Regions from separate parts of the Homo sapiens genome. Here region 1 is linked to region 2. Evidence: promoter capture Hi-C in 16 types of primary human blood cells and fetal thymus (Javierre and others, 2016). All regions are on one chromosome and are shown on one strand. The core of a region is centred on a gene start or on the middle of the fragment in contact, and the rest is flanking DNA. Distances in the headings are between cores, read along the strand shown.

Evidence for each region. The method cuts DNA at HindIII sites, captures the fragments that hold promoters and counts their contacts. A CHiCAGO score of 5 or more calls a contact.
Region 1: a fragment that was not itself captured here is called in contact with the fragment with the promoter of SHC3 in region 2 in 2 of 17 cell types (M1 macrophages and endothelial precursors); the score reaches 5.9 in M1 macrophages.

What each region holds. Positions count from the first base shown.
Region 1 is chr9:88,587,458-88,593,612 of GRCh38, forward strand. No RefSeq gene overlaps it. Among named protein-coding and RNA genes, the nearest start is that of NXNL2, 55 kb to the left of the region's middle. RefSeq lists an enhancer at 1,941-2,446. The HindIII fragment of the contact is 2,446 bases long and covers 2,120-4,565 here.
Region 2 is chr9:89,176,342-89,182,637 of GRCh38, forward strand. It overlaps SHC3 (SHC adaptor protein 3), which reads right to left and starts at 2,477. Exons shown (of 12, transcript NM_016848.6): 1 at 1,646-2,477. The coding sequence starts at 2,119. The HindIII fragment of the contact is 3,060 bases long and covers 129-3,188 here.

The sequences.
Region 1 (6,155 bases), core at 2,093-4,592, 590 kb before region 2:
AGCCAAGACAAGGAAATTAAGGAGCAGCAGAGGAAGGGTGGGCATGAGGATGTGCTCCTGGTTGCATTCTAACTCTCTCAAACACCCTCTTGGGTCCTTTCTGCCCAGTGATGGAGCCCAGGCACCAGGCTGGCATCAGGTCTCAGCCCACTGCTGAAGGGAGGGAGGGAAGGAGAATAAAACTTGGCCTGTGTGATAGCATGAAAATCAATTATAATTTTGAATTTGGAAAACAAAGCTCTGACCCTTGAAAGACAGACCACCTTCAGAAAGATGCTTCGCAAACAAATTTAAGATCCAGGCAGGGAACAGCATTTCCTGTCACCAAAAAACCCCTGCAAGTTCATTTCCCTCCAAAACACGATTTCTGCAATCTTCTGCTTTTCCAGGCACATAAGCCACTGCCTTAAGCTCCTGAGGTACATGGTAGAAGAGGACAAGGACAGTTGGCTCTGGTTCCTATGTCCCTGAGTGTGTGGGTGGGCCTCTGGTCCCCATATCCCCGTGCGTGGGTCAGGACCTGGTCTGGAGCGTCCCTGGGTGTGCAGGGAGGGCTGGTCTCAGGGTTCCCCAGGTGTAGGTGGTGGGATCTGTTCCTTTTTTGTGGTCATCCAGCAGGGTGTGCATGAGGTCAGGGTGGCACACAAGGTCCTCTCAGAACCTCTTCTTCATGCTCATCGTGCCTGTGGAATGTCCCAGGCCAAACACAGCCTTGAGGGACTCTGAAGGGTCCTCCATGGCTGCAGCCCTTGCTCTTGCTAGATGTGTTGTGTCTGTGAAGATGTTTCCATATAGATTCCAGGCTGCTGAGCAGGTCTCTCCTATGCAGGCAGGAAATGGGGTTGCGGGGAGGGGCAAGAGAAGATAGAGACAGTTGGAGGTAGGGTACATATGGAGATGATTAGTTTGGTGATCTTCAGTGGTCAATGCACTAAAGATCATGGGAAAGGAACTGTTATGGCCTGAATGTTTGTGTCCCTTGAGATTCCTGTGCTGAAACTGACTCTCCAGTGTGATGTCAGTAAGAGGTGGGGCCTGTGGGAGGGGATGAGGTCATGAGGGTGGAGCTCTCGTGAATGGGACTAGTGCCTTCCTGAAAGAGACCCCAGAGAGCTGCCTCACCTCTTCTACCACATAGCGAGAAGGCGCTGTCTCTGAGGAAGGAGCCTTCACCTGGCCAGACAACACGTCTTCTGGTGCCTTGATCTTGGACTTCCCAGCCTGTAGAACTGTGAGAAATAATTTTTTGTTGTTTATAAGCCACCTAGTTTATGGTATTCCATTATAGCCACCCAAATGGATGAAGACAGGAACTAATACCACTCATGGGCTGAGCTTCCCCAAAGGCAAGGCCCTGCCAGGGAGGTTGGTTGGTGGAACGGCAGGAGTGGTGTCAGTCCTGCCTGTTCTCTCCCAACAGCTACGCAGACACACAGAAACTTGTGGATTTCGTGCAGAGGGGCCATGCTCTGTTTTTAAAAATTCTACTATTGATATACTTCAACAGGGTCCAGGTTGTCTCATTACCTCGTCTTTAAAGTCTTCAATAATGAATAAAGTGAATAGGAGCTGGCAGAACAATCCTTACCTCTCTCCTGACTGTGGAGGTCTTGTGGGTGGGAGATGACACATTTCTATACCATCCCTTTTCTGCCCACAGAAAATAGTGGGAAAAGATACCCAAGAACATCACACAAAGGAAAGAGAGATTTGATCTGCCTCTGTCTGCCCTGCTGGGCTGTGGGGCAGGGTGCCCTGGGCCTCAGTGTCTGCTCTATGCATGAGCAGAGAAGGCAACCAGCTGTGGGCAAGGGGAAAATGGACCCTAATTCTGGATTTAGCCACAATAGCTTGTGCTGCCCAGAATTCTCCTTTGCTCATGGCAGATTGTGGTGTGTGTGTCCACGCTGGAACAGTGTGAGCGGAGGGGTGGGGGGTATCATTTTCACTTGGTTCCATGGAGAAACCTCAAGGGAAACTGAACTTGGGCTCCAAATCTTAGTTTGTTCTACCACTCCGTAGCCTTTTCTGTTGACCCCATGTCCTGCTAGGATACTTTTGTGTCCCAGGATTTGCTCTGGTGTGACAAGAGGGCCAGAGTTAAACAGAGGAGCAGAGAAGCTTAAAAACTGGAACGTTCCCAGGGATGGTGCCAAGGTTGGTAAGCAAGGTTGAAAATGGGGCTGTGCACACACAGGGTACAGGGGAGAGGCTCCAGTTTCCTCTTCTCTGCAGGAACTAGAAACCAGCTTTAAATGTGCCCCTTGCCACATGCACACCTGTGATGCCTCCAGAAGTCCCCACTGGCCTGGCCTTGTGTAGGGGTGTGTAGACACGCCTCTCACATACCCTGTCCCCCTGGGGTGAGCCTGGCTGAGGGCAGGGCTGAGCGTGGTGTGGGGCAACCCCAGCATCACCCCTGTTCTAGATGCTTTCAGGGAGGGTGGCCCTGCAGGGATCAGAGGGCTGGCACACACAGGCTCCAGAATCAATGCAAGGCAGTGGGGAAGACCTCTCAAATTTCTTGCGAGCCACCCACTGTGCCCATCTGAGGACAAGGCCCAGCAGGGAGCCACTGGCCCCACTGCCTTGCCTGTGCCCCACTGTACATTGACACTTGGAATAGGGCATGGCTGTCACCTCACTTATTTTTACTATTTCCTCTTGATAGAGGCAGGAGGCAGAGAAACTCTAGACAGACAGGAGTTGGTCCCTGGTGAAGCCCCACTTTCAAGCCAAAAAGCCTGACACCCACGGCTTAAAGTGAGAACTTCCGTCCCTCTTTGCCTACTCTCTCCCTATTAGTTTTTTCTGAGTAATGTGTTTTTTCCATTTGAATGTTGCCTTTTCCAAAACTACTTATGGCCTGCCCCACCCCCCATCCTGTGCTTATAAGGACCCCAGATTTAGCTGGTAGAGAGAAGCAGCTGTACTTCAGAGAGAGGCAACTTGATTTCAGAGGAGGGAGGCAGAGAGGCTGCTTGACTTCAGGGGAGAGTGACCTGTCCTTTCCATCCCCTTTCCAGTTCCACTCTCTGCTGAGAGCCACTCTCATCACTCAATAAAATTTCCACATTCATCATCCTTCAATTTGTTCATGTGACCGCATTCTTCTTGGAACTGGACAAGAATTCAAGACCTACCAAATGTGGGTACCAAAAAGGCTGTCACACTGGCCCTTTGCCCTCACTGGTGGAGGGCAGCTGCCCCACGCAGCGAGACAAAAGGCCCACTGAGCTGATAACACACTGCTGTCTGTGGACAGTAGAACTAAGTATTGCAACATGCCCTCTGGGGCCTTGGGATCGCAGGCGCCCCCACCTGGATGCTGACGCAGGGCCTGCACTGAGTTTTCTCTGCTGGCGCCAAAATGGCCAGCTGGTTCCTGCATTGGCTTGCCTACTCGCTCCCTCTGGCAAGAAATGGAGTGTGGTGGGCTGGAGTAAACCGAGTTTGCTCTTGTCTGCACAGAAGCCAGAATTGGCGGGCTGGTTCCTGCACTGGTTCGCTCATGTGCTCCCTCCTGCGAGGGGTTGAGCATGGTCAGCTGAGTAAAAGGGGCACCCTTCTCGTGAGTCCTGCAAAAGGGTCAAGAAAATATCCTGCCTCACTCTCATCCATGTCCCCTGGAGAGCATGCACCTCCAATGCCGATGCTCTCTTGGGAGCAGGAAGAGGGAAAGTGAATCAGGAATATTGGGTGATTTTAGCCTTTGGTCAGACATACTTTATGGCAAATTTCCACCAAAGAGGCAATTTCAACAAATACAATATTCTGTGGCAGACACTGCTTCTTTCTCTAATTCGCATAACACTAAGAAAACATTTCCCTCTATTAATGGAGATAGGAAAGAGACAGATAATGGATCCACTGGCAAGGCGTGGCTGCCCTCCACACTATTGATTTTTCTAGCCATGAAGTTGTCTCAGGCCAAATGCAGTCAGCTGAGAGGCAGTAATGGAGGGGGAAAGGGTCTATCGTGTGTATATGTAATGCATGCTGCTAAGTTGATGAATCTTTTGGAAGGACTCTGTTTGCTGTGGAAAATAGGCCAGGGTATGCAGGCCATCAACTGCGTGGAAGATTTCATTAGAAACAGAAATTCTCCACTCAATGTGGGCATCGTTTTCTGCCTGCCGACTCTGTGGCTTCCTGGCAAGGCCAGTGAATGAGGACCCTGCAGCAGCTGCGCACATTTCGACAACAGTATTTTGTTGAGTCTCAACACAGAATTCTTTCATTCTTTAACACAAATTCTGAAATTGAGATGGGCCTTACTATTAGCAGCAAAATAGACTTGCTTGGTTCCAGGCAGAGGATGGAGCTCAGAAGCTGTGTCGTTGCTGTGAGGACACGAACGTGCCATACATATGACTGTGGACCAGCTCCCTTCGTGTGGGCAGCGTTGCAACTGGCGGCATTGTAGTTCAACTTTGTGCTCTTTACTTTGACCTAATGTGTCATCACAAAACCCCACTATAAAATTATGTAGCTATACTTTGTTGTAAGTTAAAAATTATATGTTGTACATACAATTTATCTGTTTTTATATAAAATAAAAGTTAAGCTTCACGGAGGAAATTGCCTGCTGTGTTCCAGCCAGGAGAGCTCAAGAACCTCCCTGCGCTTTGCAATGAGTGAGGGGCACCTTATGGTCCACTGAAAAGCAGAGTTTCCAAGTCAGGAACAACTCTCTGTTAAGAAGAGGGCTCACGTTTGAAGGAAACTCATCTAACAGTCACATAGGATAACTGTGACTTAACCAAGTGGCAAATGAGCATGAGGTCCTGGCATTTTTGAGGTATGTTTTGAAATAATTTCTATCCATGTAGGACAGGGTTCTTTTATTTTTTTATTTTATTTTATGTTTTTAGGTTCAGGGAGCATGTATGTGGGTTTGTTACATGGATAAATTGCATGTTGCTGAGGTTTGGGGGTGAGTACTACCATGATATCATCACCCAGGCAGTGAGCATAGTACCTGATAGGTAGTTTTTTGTGTTTTTTTTTTCAACTTTTATTTTAGGTTTAGGGCTGGATTACAAAAAAATCACTGGTGGGTTCTATGCTTAGTACCTGGGTGACAAAATAACCTGTATACCAAACCCCTGTGCACGAGTTTACCTGTATAATGAACCTGCAGCAATGGGCACACAGAGGGGAACAACATGTAGGACAGAGTTCAAACCTTAAGGGATCAGGAGCAGGAGCAAGAGTTGGTAAAAATAAAAATAAAAGTCTACCATCTGCGGCTGGGTGAAAGGTCAGTGGGCCGGGGCATTCCCAAACTATTCAAACTCATTCTCAGGACTCGGCTGCCAGCAGAGGAAGGATATTATTGTCAGTTGTGTGCGTGTTTCAGTGTTGTGTTTTCCCTCTCAACCCCCGAAAAGCTGATCTCAGGAGGAGCTGGGGAGCTCTGGGCTCTCCTAGACCAGTCTGAGGATGCCACATAATACAGAGTTTTGGGCTTTTGGAAAGACACCGAGATGCGCTCTGCGAAGCCTTCTCAGCCCTGATCAGTGGCACATGGAGGACGCTGACCCAGGCAGCACAAGCCTGCCGGCAGCCTCTTTCCATGCAGCGCTGTAATTTCTAAAGAAGGGAATCCGCACGGTGAGACTTGGGTGTATAAGGCATTCTGGGGTTGAAAAATCGAAAATCATGATTAAAAATGACCTATCGGCATCTGTGCAGAGCCTGTAGACTGGCACTGGGGGCTATGTGTCACCTCGGCCCATTGGATCTTATTGATTTGTCTGGTCATTCAGCCTCTGGTCGTTCAAGCCCAGGGCAGGCAGCTCAGCAGGAGCAACAATGGTGAGTGTGGGGTGCACACCTCTGCAGGTCAGGCTTCTAGGGCAAAAGGGAATTCCAAAAGCCTTTGCCTAAGACACTCTCAGAGTAACTGATTCACAGACAAAGATGAGATTGCTAACATTTTTATTCTTGTGATTTCGTGAAGCAGGAACAAGTGCAGGTAATTCTGCAGGCTCAGGACTCTGAACGAATCTCCACTGGGGATACAGGTACACATTCCATCTGCATCTTTCAGGCAGACAAGGGGAATGAGCAAGGAAATTCTCTGCCTTTGAAAAAAAATGCACCTACAAAAAGGTGCAAAAGCTAACAAAGAAACAAAAAAACAAGCAAAA
Region 2 (6,296 bases), core at 1,227-3,726:
GGCCTTCCTTCTTTAAAAAGCAAAAGCAAAGTTCTAAGCAAAGTGATTAAAACAAAAATTTAAAGCCATAAGTTTGAGAATTCTCCCTCAATTTGAAAACTACTCTGTTTAATATGACAGGTAGAAAAAGCTTTGCCAAGGTCTATTTGTCTATTTGAAATGTAGGCTTTTTAAAACAGCAATTATGCTAACACCCCAGAAGTAAACACAACCTCAAAGCTGTCAGGGATTTTTGGTTTGGTTTGTTTTTTTCTTTTTGTTTTGGCCCCTGGTTATATAATTTAAATAAGCAAAACAAGAAGAATATTCAGTACCTCTTAAAATAAACTCAACCAAATATGCATATATTATGCTCATCTATACCCCTTTGGTAAAATATAATAATCCATAGTTTGAAGGTTAAATTAAAAAGCAGACTGAAAAGGTGAAGAAGCCCTCTTTTAACAACAATGGCCACATTCATCTGTAAGTACTTTTTATATAGTTAAAGGCAATCCACAAAGTTAAGTATTTCTGTTAATATTTTGGTTCCGAAATTACCAGACACTGCATTTTACCTGAGGATGTGTTCTATTTAATTTTTACACTGGAATCTGCAGCCAATATTTACGGAACAGACATCCTGGGGGTTTCTCAGTGTTATTGAGGACACGGTGGGGATAGAGTTTGTGTCTCATTTCTTTCTCAATACAAAGCCATGCCTTGGAGTGGCAGGATTGAAATACTGCAACTTCCATCCTTAACCCCTGTCTGCTCGGCTGTGGAGGCTGTTAAAGCTCTGAGCTGCCCAACCGGCAGAAGGAAATAACCGCGTGGCAGATTACTTGAACTGTGCTGAGCATTTTTCCTTAAATATCATAACATGCTTGCATAAGGGTGGAATTTTATTGACTACATCGTGATTTTATCATCTTTGTGTTGGAGGAAAAAACTCCTTTCCAGCCTGTGGCTCCAAGCGCAGCGCCCTAGTTCCCTTTTAGCACATTTAAATGGAAGACTACAGTCACCAGAAAAATAGTCCCAGAATTCTCATTCCGCTGCTGTAAACCAGAACCTTTCCTTAGGGAATGAAAGACAAACCCCAAGAAAACCTGGACTGGGTGAGAAAGTAAAGCCCGTCGAAGAGAAAGCAGCACAGCATTTGGCCTGCTCTGCAAGGAGCTGGGAATTCTTGCTGCGGGGGGCAACAAGATACCCACCCTCCCGCCGGGGAAGACACAGCAGGAGTAGGGCCGCCACTCCGTGCATCTCTCCTCCCGGGGGCTGCCCAGCTCTCCCCAGCGCGTTTCCTAGATACTAGGCAGGCCGGACCCCCGCTGCCCAGGGTTGGGCGCCCATGACACTGGTCAGACATCTGGTAAGCCAGGTGGCAAAGGCGTGCCAAAAAAGTGGAGCCTAGGGAAAACCGGGACGGAGCGGGCCACCCGAGTGGTAAACCTTTTCCCAATGGATGCGGGAAAAGCGCATTTGTAGTTCCCTCCTCACCGCTGTCAAGCGAGCTGATTGCTAAGGAGTGCGCATTTGCTTGCCTCTAACGTGACAGTCGCGGGAGCGCCCCGCACCCCGGGCTTCAGGGAATGAAGGAGTCTGCCCCGAACTGGCCCCAGAACCCCCAGCCCCCAGGGCGGCCCGCGCCCGCACCCACCTTGACCACGTAGGTGACTCCGGGCCCCAGCACCTGGTCGCTGGCGTGCGGCGCCCCCCGAGGGGGCCTGGGCAGCGGCTCGTCGCCGGGCCGGCCCTTCCTGGCGGCGCTCATGGCCGGGGCGCGGGGCGCCGAGGGCGCACTGCCGTCCGGGGCGGCCAGGCTGGGCGCGCTGCAGCTGCCCGAGAGCCGCGCGCCCGCCCGCTCCCGGGCGGCCGACGACAGGCCGCGGAGGCCCGAGCTGGAGAGTTTCAGGTGGGACACCTTGTGGAGCAGGTGGCCCAGGCTGCCGGGCCCATCGTCGGGCGCCTTGCGCAGCGCCTCGCCGGACACCAAGTAGGGAGCCGCCGCCGGGGTCGCGCGCGCCGCCGAAACCTTGCCTCCGCCGCCGCTCACCGACAGGCTGTGGAGAAGGTCATCGACCGATGTCACCGAGTCATTCCTGAAGCGGTTATACTTGGTGCGTGGAAGCATGCCCCTCCGTGGGCTCGCTGCATCCGCCCGGGCGCTGCTGGTGCCGGCCCCGGCGCGGGCTGCCGCGCATAGCAGGCGAGCCACTGTCCCCGGAGCGGGACGGAGAGTGGGGGCCCCGGGACAGCCTTCTGGAGAACGAGAGCAGAGCAAGAGGATGGTGCCCTCCCACCGTTAAAAGCCAGCACAGCGGCGGCCGCGCAGCCCCGGCCCGGGAGACCGCTGCTTGGGGTTGCACGTTTGCTTTGCAAAAGTCATAGTTGCCTCTGATGGAGCGCCCAGCTGCTTGGGGCTGCTCACAGCAAAAGCATGACTCACTCTGAGAGGAGACCCTTCTCAACAAAGGCTCGGTGAGCACTGCAAATCACTTCCTGTAGCAGAAGAAAAAAAAGGAAAAAAAGAAGAAAAAAACGACATCCACCCGCTGACAGCACACTATAGCCAATCAATTCTCAAATTTCCTTTTTCTACCTTCCCAGATATTTCCTTCCAACCTTTGATTTTTCACCTTCCCATCCCCCGCAATCTGCATTTGTGCCAAAGGTAAATCCAATCCAGTTCCTTCAAATCGTCAAATGAACTTTCTGAAACCCATTATTCTGTTAGGTTTTGCTCGTCCCTGCTCAGCCCATCTGTGTGAGCCTGTAAAAGTGTCTAACAGCGATGCGTTAAAATGTGACGAAGGCTTTTTAAGAATCAGATCTTCAGCGAATCCTGATGAATCTTGACTTGGAAGGCAGCAGGAATTTTTAAATAGAAAAAAACAAAAAGGATATTCACCCCCAGGTGACTGTAAAATACCAATTTCCTGGGTTTTGCTTTTTCTTTTCAAATTAACAGAGCAGCGATGACAAGTGTCTTTGTGGCAATGCAGTTCCTCAAAAAAAAAAAAAAAAAAAAATCTGCATATGAACTTCTGCACAGTGCCAATCAAGGGGTCTTCCCTGCTCATTTACAGCAGTCTTTCTCAGCCAGGGTTAAGTTGAATATCCACTTCCAAAAAAGAAGAGTGCTTCTTTCACGAGTGGCAACAGGCTCCAGAAATCCATTCCAAAAAAGGGGCTGCATTTGAAGCTTTAATCCTACTGAATGTGTTTAAGCTCTGGAAAAACGCCTAAGAAATGCTACAAATACATTTCAATGTTCCTTCAGTTGCTGCTTGCAACCCTGCAGTCAGGAAGGAAAAAATGCAGCTGTTCTTATTGCACATCAAATCCACAAGGAGGAAAATATGCCTTCTTTTCAGGAGTCAGGCTCGGGCTTGCAAGTAAAATGCACAGGCCTTCTTCCTCTCAGTTAGGAGAGCAAGGCTTTCGCTGTCCCCAGAGGTCTGCCCGAGACTGAAGCCCTCTGACTCTTGACCTCAGTGGGCTCTGCCAGGCTTCCTCATGCATTAGGATCACCTGCTCCACAGTGAAACACTCACTATCAAAGTTTTCCCGCAACTTCTGAGCAAGCGAATAAATTCAGCTCTAGCACACTCTCAGGTCACCCTGAGTCCTCTCACTCCCATGACCGAACATGTGGGGCACGTGAGGTCCTGAGTCTTGAACCCTGCTCTATGGAGCAGAGTTTAATGAGCGCCACTCATGGCGGGCGAGCGGGTGAGGCCAACCCCTAGGACGCAAGAGCGCAGAGGAGCCGCGGCGTCCCCGGTACAGGAAACGCGTCCCCACGGCTCGCCTCCTGTGCCGCAGCCCTAGCAGAACAGCTACACGGCACTCATTTGTTCCCTTTCCCTAGCTTGCATAGCAACAGCAATTGCACACCCCATAGATGATTTTGATGGTTATCAGAGTCCTCCCCAGATCTGTAGCGAAACAGCCCTATCATTCCCAAAGCGAGATCTTCATTAGATGCAGACAAAAACCGCAAAATGTGAATGAAATGCTGTTTGTGTGAATGAAAAGGCTAGCGAGCGAGCCAGCGTTTCTGTGAATGAAGCAGGGCCTTGCAGCCGGTGCCAGGCAATCCCCTGGGCTCCAGCGGCCTCAGCCAATGAGCGGCCGCCCCGATGACTCATTCAACAAAGGCTTGCTCAATAGTGGAAGATTCCATTTCAATCAAAGGCGGGATCTTTTATCCAACGGCAGTGTGGGAAAAAAAAAAAGAAAAAGAAAAAAAAACACCCAGCCGGATTACAAAGATACCGGGAGGAAGAGGCCAGCTGCTATGGAGAGGAAAAGCTAGTTTTACAAGGGAATTCAAGATCCCTTGGTCAGGTCTAAGTGTGAAGAGGGTCTCTCTTGGAGGTGAGCTGTGCCCCTAAACTTTCATTCAGCCGTTCATTTACATCAAGGAGCAACCATGAATGTGCCAGTCGTTCAGCTTTTATTATGAATGTACATTGAATGCACGTTCAAAACCTAGGTTCCTAGCCCTTGATTCTTTTTTTGTAAAAGGCATGTAGGACACCTGTACACGTTCTGAGGCTCCAGGGAGGAAAAAAAATCCAAAGCTATGTACTTAACGTTTAGCCAACAGGAGACTTTTATTTCTTTTATTATGAGGCCAGTGGAGGGAAATTGGTCATTTTAAAATATAAATAGCAACATAAATTTACTATATATGAAAAGATATATAATCAAAGACAGAAATTAATATTCCAAGAACACAGTAGTACGGTAAAACCTCACTTACCTGGAAAATAGTATCAACATTTTGGAACGTAGCAGAAAGATGGAAAAAGAAAAACCCGAAGGCCTCTCAGCATCAAAAGGAGGCTGTGCAGCCCACACAGAAGCTCACACACCCTACTCATGAGAAAACCCTTTGCCCTTTCTGGGGAGCTGTTCATGTTTATTTTAGACCCTGTACCAGAAAGCCCACATATCTTCTTGATCAACATAGAGACAGATGAGAGAGGAGACCACTGGGACAGAAAATGCTAAATGTAAATGAAATTTTCTGTTGCTGGCTTGCTTGATAGCCATGGAAGGAAGCAGGAAAAAAAAACTCCATTTTAAAGTCAGCCTTGAGATTCACCAAAGCCAGGCAGTCTGGGGCAATTTACAATGAGAGCCTTTCCAGTATGTTGTGGTTTTTCTTTTTTAAATCAATGCTTAAACACGTATTTGCTTTCTATGGCTGCCGTAACAAATGACCACAAAATCAATGGCTTAGAATAACACAATTTATTATCTTCCAGTTTGTAGGTAAGAAGTCCAAATGGGTCATGCTGGGATCCAGCATGGGTGTGGGCCGAGCTGGTTCCTCTGGAGGCTCTGAGGGAGAATCCACAAATTTCTGAGAAGGTGCCATGAGCTGGGCCCTGGGGAAAGTGGTTTTGCCTTCTGGAAGGCAGAAGATCTGAAATTAATGTTATAACCTAGTTAAGACTATGTGAATTTTGTAATATGTGTGAGATACAAAAACTTGACCAAAGGAGTGAGCTTGTCCTGAGGATGCGGAGGTGACCCCTGACCCCAGTGGAGGCATCCTCCAGGTGACTTCACAGGAGGAAACTGTGTGGGCAAGGGCTCCAGGCCTGAGCAGTCCAGAGTCTCCCAGAATCCCTGGTAGGTTGGTTGGGTTGGTGAGGAGGTCAGGAGGCTGGGCACTCATAAAGGCTTAGAGGGGTGATGAGGTTTGGATGTGTGTCCCCTCCAAATCTCATGTTGAAATGTGACCCTCAGTGTTGGAGGTGGGGCCTGGTGGGAGGTGACTGAATCATGGGGGTGGATCCCTCATGAATAGCTTAGCACCATTCCCTTGGTGATAAGTGAGTTCTTGCTCTGAGCTTACATGAGATTTGCTTGGATAAAAGAATATGGCGGCCTGGTGTGGTGGCTCATGCCTGTAATCCCAGCACTTTGGGAGGCCGAGGTGATGGATCACCTGAGGTCGGGAGTTCGAGACCAGCCTGGCCAACAGGTGAAACCCCATCTCTACTAAAAATACCAAAACTAGCCGGGCATGGTGGCAGGCCCCTGTAATCACAGCTACTCGGGGGGCTGAGGCAGGAGAATCGCTTGAACCCGGGACGAGGAGTTTGCAGTGAGCCGAGATCGCACCATCGCATTCCAGACTGGGCGAAAAGAGCAAGACTTTGTCTCAAAAACAATAAAAATAAAATAAAATAAAATAAAATAAAATAAAATAAAATAAAATAAAATAAAATAAAATAAAATAAAATAAATGTGGCGCCTCCCCTCTCACTCTCTTTATTGCTTCTGCTCAT